Regions from separate parts of the Homo sapiens genome. Here region 2 is linked to region 1. Evidence: promoter capture Hi-C in 16 types of primary human blood cells and fetal thymus (Javierre and others, 2016). All regions are on one chromosome and are shown on one strand. Each heading gives the region's core, a stretch centred on a gene start or on the middle of the fragment in contact. The rest is flanking DNA. Distances are from core to core; before and after follow the strand shown. Region 1 holds the start of ELK1 (ETS transcription factor ELK1). Region 2 holds the start of LINC01545 (long intergenic non-protein coding RNA 1545).

Region 1 (2,792 bases), core at 187-2,686:
GAGGATTAAAGGAACTCATTCATATGAAACACTCTGCCTGATATACGGCAGGTGCTCAATAAACGCTAGCTCCTATTGGCATTACTATCATCACTGGCGCTAATGTATTCACTTATTGTAGTGAGGCAGAACGTCTTTGTGGTTACGAGTGTGACCAGGCTGACCCACTATTAAGAGGTGGAGGACAGGGAAGGCCGTACAGTGCTCCATCACAAGGAAAAGAGGATCAGCACGTTCTCTTCTGGGAAGGGAAAAAAAAAGAGAAGGAAATTGAAAGTACACGGCCGATCTTCCCCCAATTACAAAGCACTGGACTCACGGGAGGGTATGCGGGGGACTGTGCAAGCATACAGGGGTGTGGGGGAGGAAGGCCAATGAACAGATCCACTGCAAAGGGAGGGGTGATGAGGCTCATCGTCTGAGGGGAAGGGGAGCAGAAAACCTTACAGACTCCTGCACCACAGTGAGAGGAGAGAAAAGCCATCACACAGACTGATTCAAAGCAGAGAGGGAAAAGGCTATGGACTGAGCTACTGAAAATAGGGAGATGTAAAGCACTAAACTAACCCACTATTAAAAAGGAGAGAACCCCAAGCGCTAGAGCGACAGTCTACGAAAAAGAGGAGACAGGGCAATGGACTGATAGCTAAAGGGACGTGAATCCAAACATGAAGACTGATCCACTATAAAATGGTGGTGGTGGTGGTGGGGGGGGGGGGTGGTTTTGAAAAAAGCCATGGACTGATGCATTGGGGGACTGGAGGAGGCAGGAATACAAACTCAGGTAGACTCACTGTTAAAGAGGGATGCGGAGGAGTGCGGCGCCACGGATTGATTCGCTACGATGTACAGGAAGGGTGGAATAAATAAGGCCACGGACGGGTCTCCTGAAAGTTGAGGCTAGGAGAAATCCAAACACTCAGATACACCTACTATTAAGGGGGCTGAACACTGTCACAGGCTAGCTCCCTATAAGTGGGGGTGGGTGGGGGGCGGGTGGGGGTAGGGGTAGGGGGAAAGCCTATGGACGAGTCCACCCTAAGTTGGCGTGGGGAAAAACATAAGCACGCAGACCGATCCATTATACAACGGGAGGGGGAGGTTAGGCCACGGTCAGATCCACTATAAGGGACGAAGGGCTTGAGCAATGCCACACGCAGGTCCACCAGCCGTGGTGGTGGCGGCGGGGAGTCGAACACCAGCAGGCCACCGGCCAAGCCACATCCTCTGCGCGGGGGCGGGAAGGATACGTGGGGTCACGGACTGGGCCCTCCACCCTCCAGGCCCAGAGCTCACCTGTGTGTAGCGTGGCGGTGGCGTTGGCAATGTTGGCAGCTCCGGGGGGCGGGGGCTCCATACGCGGCCCCACCGCCCCCCAGGCCTGGGTTCCGAGGCGGCGGTGGAGGTGGTGGTGGCGGTGGCGGCGGCAGCACCTAGAAGCCGCCCCTGCGTTTCCCTACAGCTCACGTGGGCCCGAGGAGGAGGAGCCCAATGTCCCGCCGCTCGCTGATTGGCCAAAGCGCTATTAATCGGCCGCAAGGCCTCGAGGGGTTGGGGGACGGGCCCTTCCCTACAGAGCTGTGCCGTGATTGGCGTAAGGGGAAATGATGGAACGCTCACGGCCCCTGGAGTCCCGAGGAGGCGCGTTCGGCCTTCACGGTGCTCCACGCCGATTGGCTCAAGGACTGACGGACTGTGAGCAACTGAAAAGGCTCGGGGCCTGTGTCGGGGGGGCGGGGGTCTGCCTCACACTGATTGGCTTACATGGGATTGATGGAAGACAGCCCCCAAGGACGGGGGTGGGTGGCCCTGTTTTTCTCTGATTGGCGGACGAGGGACTTCTAGACCCCTGCCAAAACACCAAGGGGGCGGTGTCGCACGCCATGCTGCTCAGCGGAAGCAGGGCTTGTATAGAAATGGGCGTAGCAGCCGGCGGGAGTGGGTCGGACTGGGCTCCGCGTAGGCGGGCAGGGCAGCTCTACGGTTAGACAAGACCATAGAGCTGGGTAAAGACGAATTTAGAACACAGCGGAGGTAGGAGGGCAGGATGGCTGTCAGGCACACGAAAGAGCATTGAGTGGCAGAAACGAAATGCTTTCAGAGGGCAGGGTTGAACTGCGGCCAGAGTTAAAAAGGGGAGGAACCTGGCTCTGCATTGATTGGCGGTGGCTGGACTCAACCTAGAATAGGGGCCCGACTAGGGAGAGCGGGATCCAGGTCTGTGCCCATTGGAAGCTGGAACACTTACAAGCAGGGGCTAAGACAAGGTAGGGCTGAGTTAGGGTTTGGGTGTAATTTGGGGTACCTGGGGAATGATTGGGTGTGTGAAAGCGTAAACCTTAGGGCCCTTTGATTGTTGTGGGAATGAACAAACCTCCACCATGAATTGGCCCATTCTCTATGGCAATTCAAAGGGTGGCGTCTAGGAAAAGGAATGGAAGAAAGGGTGAGGTGGGGGGCCCAGGTTGCCAAGATGACAGAAGAGAGGGCAGTGCATAAGGTCAACTGGCAAATACTGCCAGGCAACAGGCTGGAGGCAGGACTGCTGGGGCATTTTGGAGGTTCCACAGAGAGACTGGATCTCTGGGTCTCTCAGTAACTTTGTGCCCTAGGAACAGGCCCCCGTGGCAACTAGCAGGGTTTATGGGGAAAAAGAAGGGCCATGTGACTCAAAGGCATTCAGGCTCTTTAATGTCTGAGGATGGGGGGAAGAAGTCAATGGTGAGGCTTCTCTGGGAAATTCTGCAGGCCTTGTAGTTCTCTAAGCCCCTGAAAAAGAGGACAGAAGAGAT
Region 2 (2,792 bases), core at 126-2,625, 750 kb before region 1:
AGCCACATACATTTTATAGACTACTATTCATTTTTAATCTGTTTCCTTTTTTCTTTTTCACTTTCTCCTTTTCTCTCCTACTCTTTTTTATTTTCCTTCTTTACTTTCTCTTTTTTCCTGCCAATTTTAGTTTTTATCTTTGTGCTGTATTTAATTGTATCATCACAGGCCACATTAAATCATTTCTGGAAGATCAGTTTTAAATAAATAGATGAATAAAAAAATAGCAGTTAAAAAAAGGGAGAGAAAAGATTTAAGAACATTTCTAAAAGTAACCCCAAAATTTCTTCAGGGGGATAAAAAGTGGGATGATTTGGGAGGTCGAGGTGAGAGGATTAGCTGAGACCAGGAGTTTGAGACCAGCTTGGACAAGACGGCAAGATCCTGTCTCTACAAAAAAAAAAAAAAAAAAAAAAAAATTTAATTAGCTGGGCATAATGGCATGTACCTATAGTCCTAGCTACTTGGGAGGCTGAGGCAGGAAGATCACTTGAGCCCAGGAGTTCAAGGTTACAGTAAGCTATGATCACACCACTGCACTCCAGCCTAGGCGACCCTGTCTCAAAAACAAAAATGAAACAGTGGAATGAAATCATTTGGGTAATGTCTCCCAGACAAGTAAAGTATTCCCAAGAAATTTCTGAAGGAATTAAGGAAAATTATTGATGTTATGATTAAAAAACAAACAAACAAACTGGTTCTACTATAGAATAATAGACATTGGCAACTCAGAAGGATGGGAGGGTGGTGAGGAATAAGAAATTACTTAATGGGTACAATGTATATTATTCAGGTGATGGTTATGCTAAAAGCCTGGACGTTACAACTATGCATTATATCCACGTAACAAAACTGCACTTTTACCCCTTAAATGTACACAAATTTTTTGAAAACTGGTTCTTGCACCTCAACAGACACATAGGATTTATGAATGGACTTGGATAGAGCATAGAGGAAGGCCTGGAGCAGTTTTCATGGGCTTTTGTCTCCTATGGCCCTGGTGCGTCTATCTTCAGGAAGCTAAATACAGAGGCTTCTGAGAATTCACTTAGATGATGGTTCCCAAGAGGAACAACTCTCTCCTAAGCCACACATGGGGCAGTTTACTTCTAATATGGAAAATTATGGGTCGGGCATGGTGGCTCATGCTTGTAATCCCAGTACTTTGGGAGGCCAAGGCGGGCAGATCACTTGAGGTCAGGAGTTCAAGACCAGCCTGGCCAACATGGCAAAACCCTGTCTCTACAAAAATTAGCCAGGCATGGTGGCGTGCACCTGGGAGGCTGAGGCAGGAGAATTGCTTGAATCCAGGAGGCAGAGGTTGCAGTGAGCTGAGATCGCACCACCGCACTCTAGTCTGGGCGACAGAGCAAGACTTCATCTAAAAAAAAGAAAGAAAAGAAAGAAAGAAAATTATGGATAGTCTCTGAAGCTGAGCATTCTCTGGAGTCAGACACTTTCTTAATCCCTTTTGAAATTTCTGATGGAGAAAAATCCAATCCAAAGAAAGAATATGAAATCCAGGGAAAATTAGTTTTTTTTTCTTAAGTGCATATAAGTTATGGATTTATATATAAAATAAAGATAGTGATTGTATCAGTCAGGATTCTAACAGAGAAACAGAACCATTAGGAGACACATGTAGATATAGATATAGATATAGGTATAGATATAGATGAACTGGCTTATGTGATTGTGGTGGCTAGCTAGGCAAGCCTGAAATCTGAAATCCTTAGAGCAGGCCATCAGAAAGGACAGGCAGGAGTTCTCGAGCACAAGCCAATGCTGCTGTCTATGGGCAGAATTTCTTCTTCAGGAAAGCCTCCATTCTGCTATTAAGGCCTTTAACTGATTGATTCAGGCCCACCAGATTATCTAGGATAATCTTGTTTACATAAAGTCAACTGATTATAGACTTGATTCACATCTACAAAATACCTCTCAGCACCACCTAGATTAGATTTTAATGGAATAACTGGCTTATGTTAGCCAGTTATAAACTAGGGACTATAGCCTAGCTATGTTAACACATAAAACTGACCATTACAGGCCAGGTGCACAGTGGCTCATGCCTATAACCCCAGCACTTTGGGAGGCTGAAGCGGGCGGGTCACTTGAGACCAGGAGTTCGAGACCAGCCTGGCCTCAAGGCTGGTGAAACCTCGTCTCTACTAATAATACAAAAATTAGCCAGACGTGGTGGTGAGTGCCTGTAATCCCAGCTACTTGAGAGGCTGAGGCAGGAGAATCACTTGAATCCAGCAAGTGGAGGTTGCAGTGAGCCGAGATCACACCACCATACTCCAGCCTAGGCAACAGAGTAAGACTCCGTCTCAAAACAAAACAAAACAAAAAACAAAACTGACCACTACAGTGATGTTTGGTGTTTCATTTTGATTTTAACTTCCATCAGTGAACATTTTGTTCTTTGTGAAAATAAATCACAAGCTAAGATAGGCTTCTATGGAGAGAGTGTCAATATTACGGATCCATGGCATCAGTTGTAACATGTATTTGGTCTATGAAGGTCATTAGCCATCTGGTAAAAGGAAGCTATACTGATTATAACTCACTCATTGGGTGTATGCTATTACCTAATTCCACTAAACTGTTTTCCGTTCATTGATTTAAAAAGTTAGTTATTCAATTCAATTGAAGTTAACACCTGAGAAGGATTTCAAAGAACAGATGTGTATTTCATTTGTAGAAATCATTTTCTCATGTCACAAATGTTTAATGAATCCACTCTCCCTTGAGTTAGAAATGGTAGGTGCTTTGAAATACTTGAACCT

The links. The method cuts DNA at HindIII sites, captures the fragments that hold promoters and counts their contacts. A CHiCAGO score of 5 or more calls a contact.
Region 2: the fragment with the promoter of LINC01545 here is called in contact with the fragment with the promoter of ELK1 in region 1 in 1 of 17 cell types (monocytes); the score reaches 6.7 in monocytes.

Annotation. Positions count from the first base shown.
Region 1 is chrX:47,649,127-47,651,918 of GRCh38, forward strand. It overlaps ELK1 (ETS transcription factor ELK1), which reads right to left and starts at 1,437. Exons shown (of 7, transcript NM_001114123.3): 1 at 1,297-1,437; 2 at 795-900. It overlaps UXT (ubiquitously expressed prefoldin like chaperone), which reads right to left. Exons shown (of 7, transcript NM_004182.4): 7 at 2,670-2,769. The coding sequence ends at 2,716. RefSeq lists a cis regulatory region at 900-1,880 and a silencer at 1,212-1,621. The HindIII fragment of the contact is 5,079 bases long and covers 1-2,792 here.
Region 2 is chrX:46,898,329-46,901,120 of GRCh38, forward strand. LINC01545 (long intergenic non-protein coding RNA 1545) reads right to left here and starts at 1,376. Exons shown (of 4, transcript NR_046101.1): 1 at 1,276-1,376. The HindIII fragment of the contact is 5,808 bases long and covers 1-2,792 here.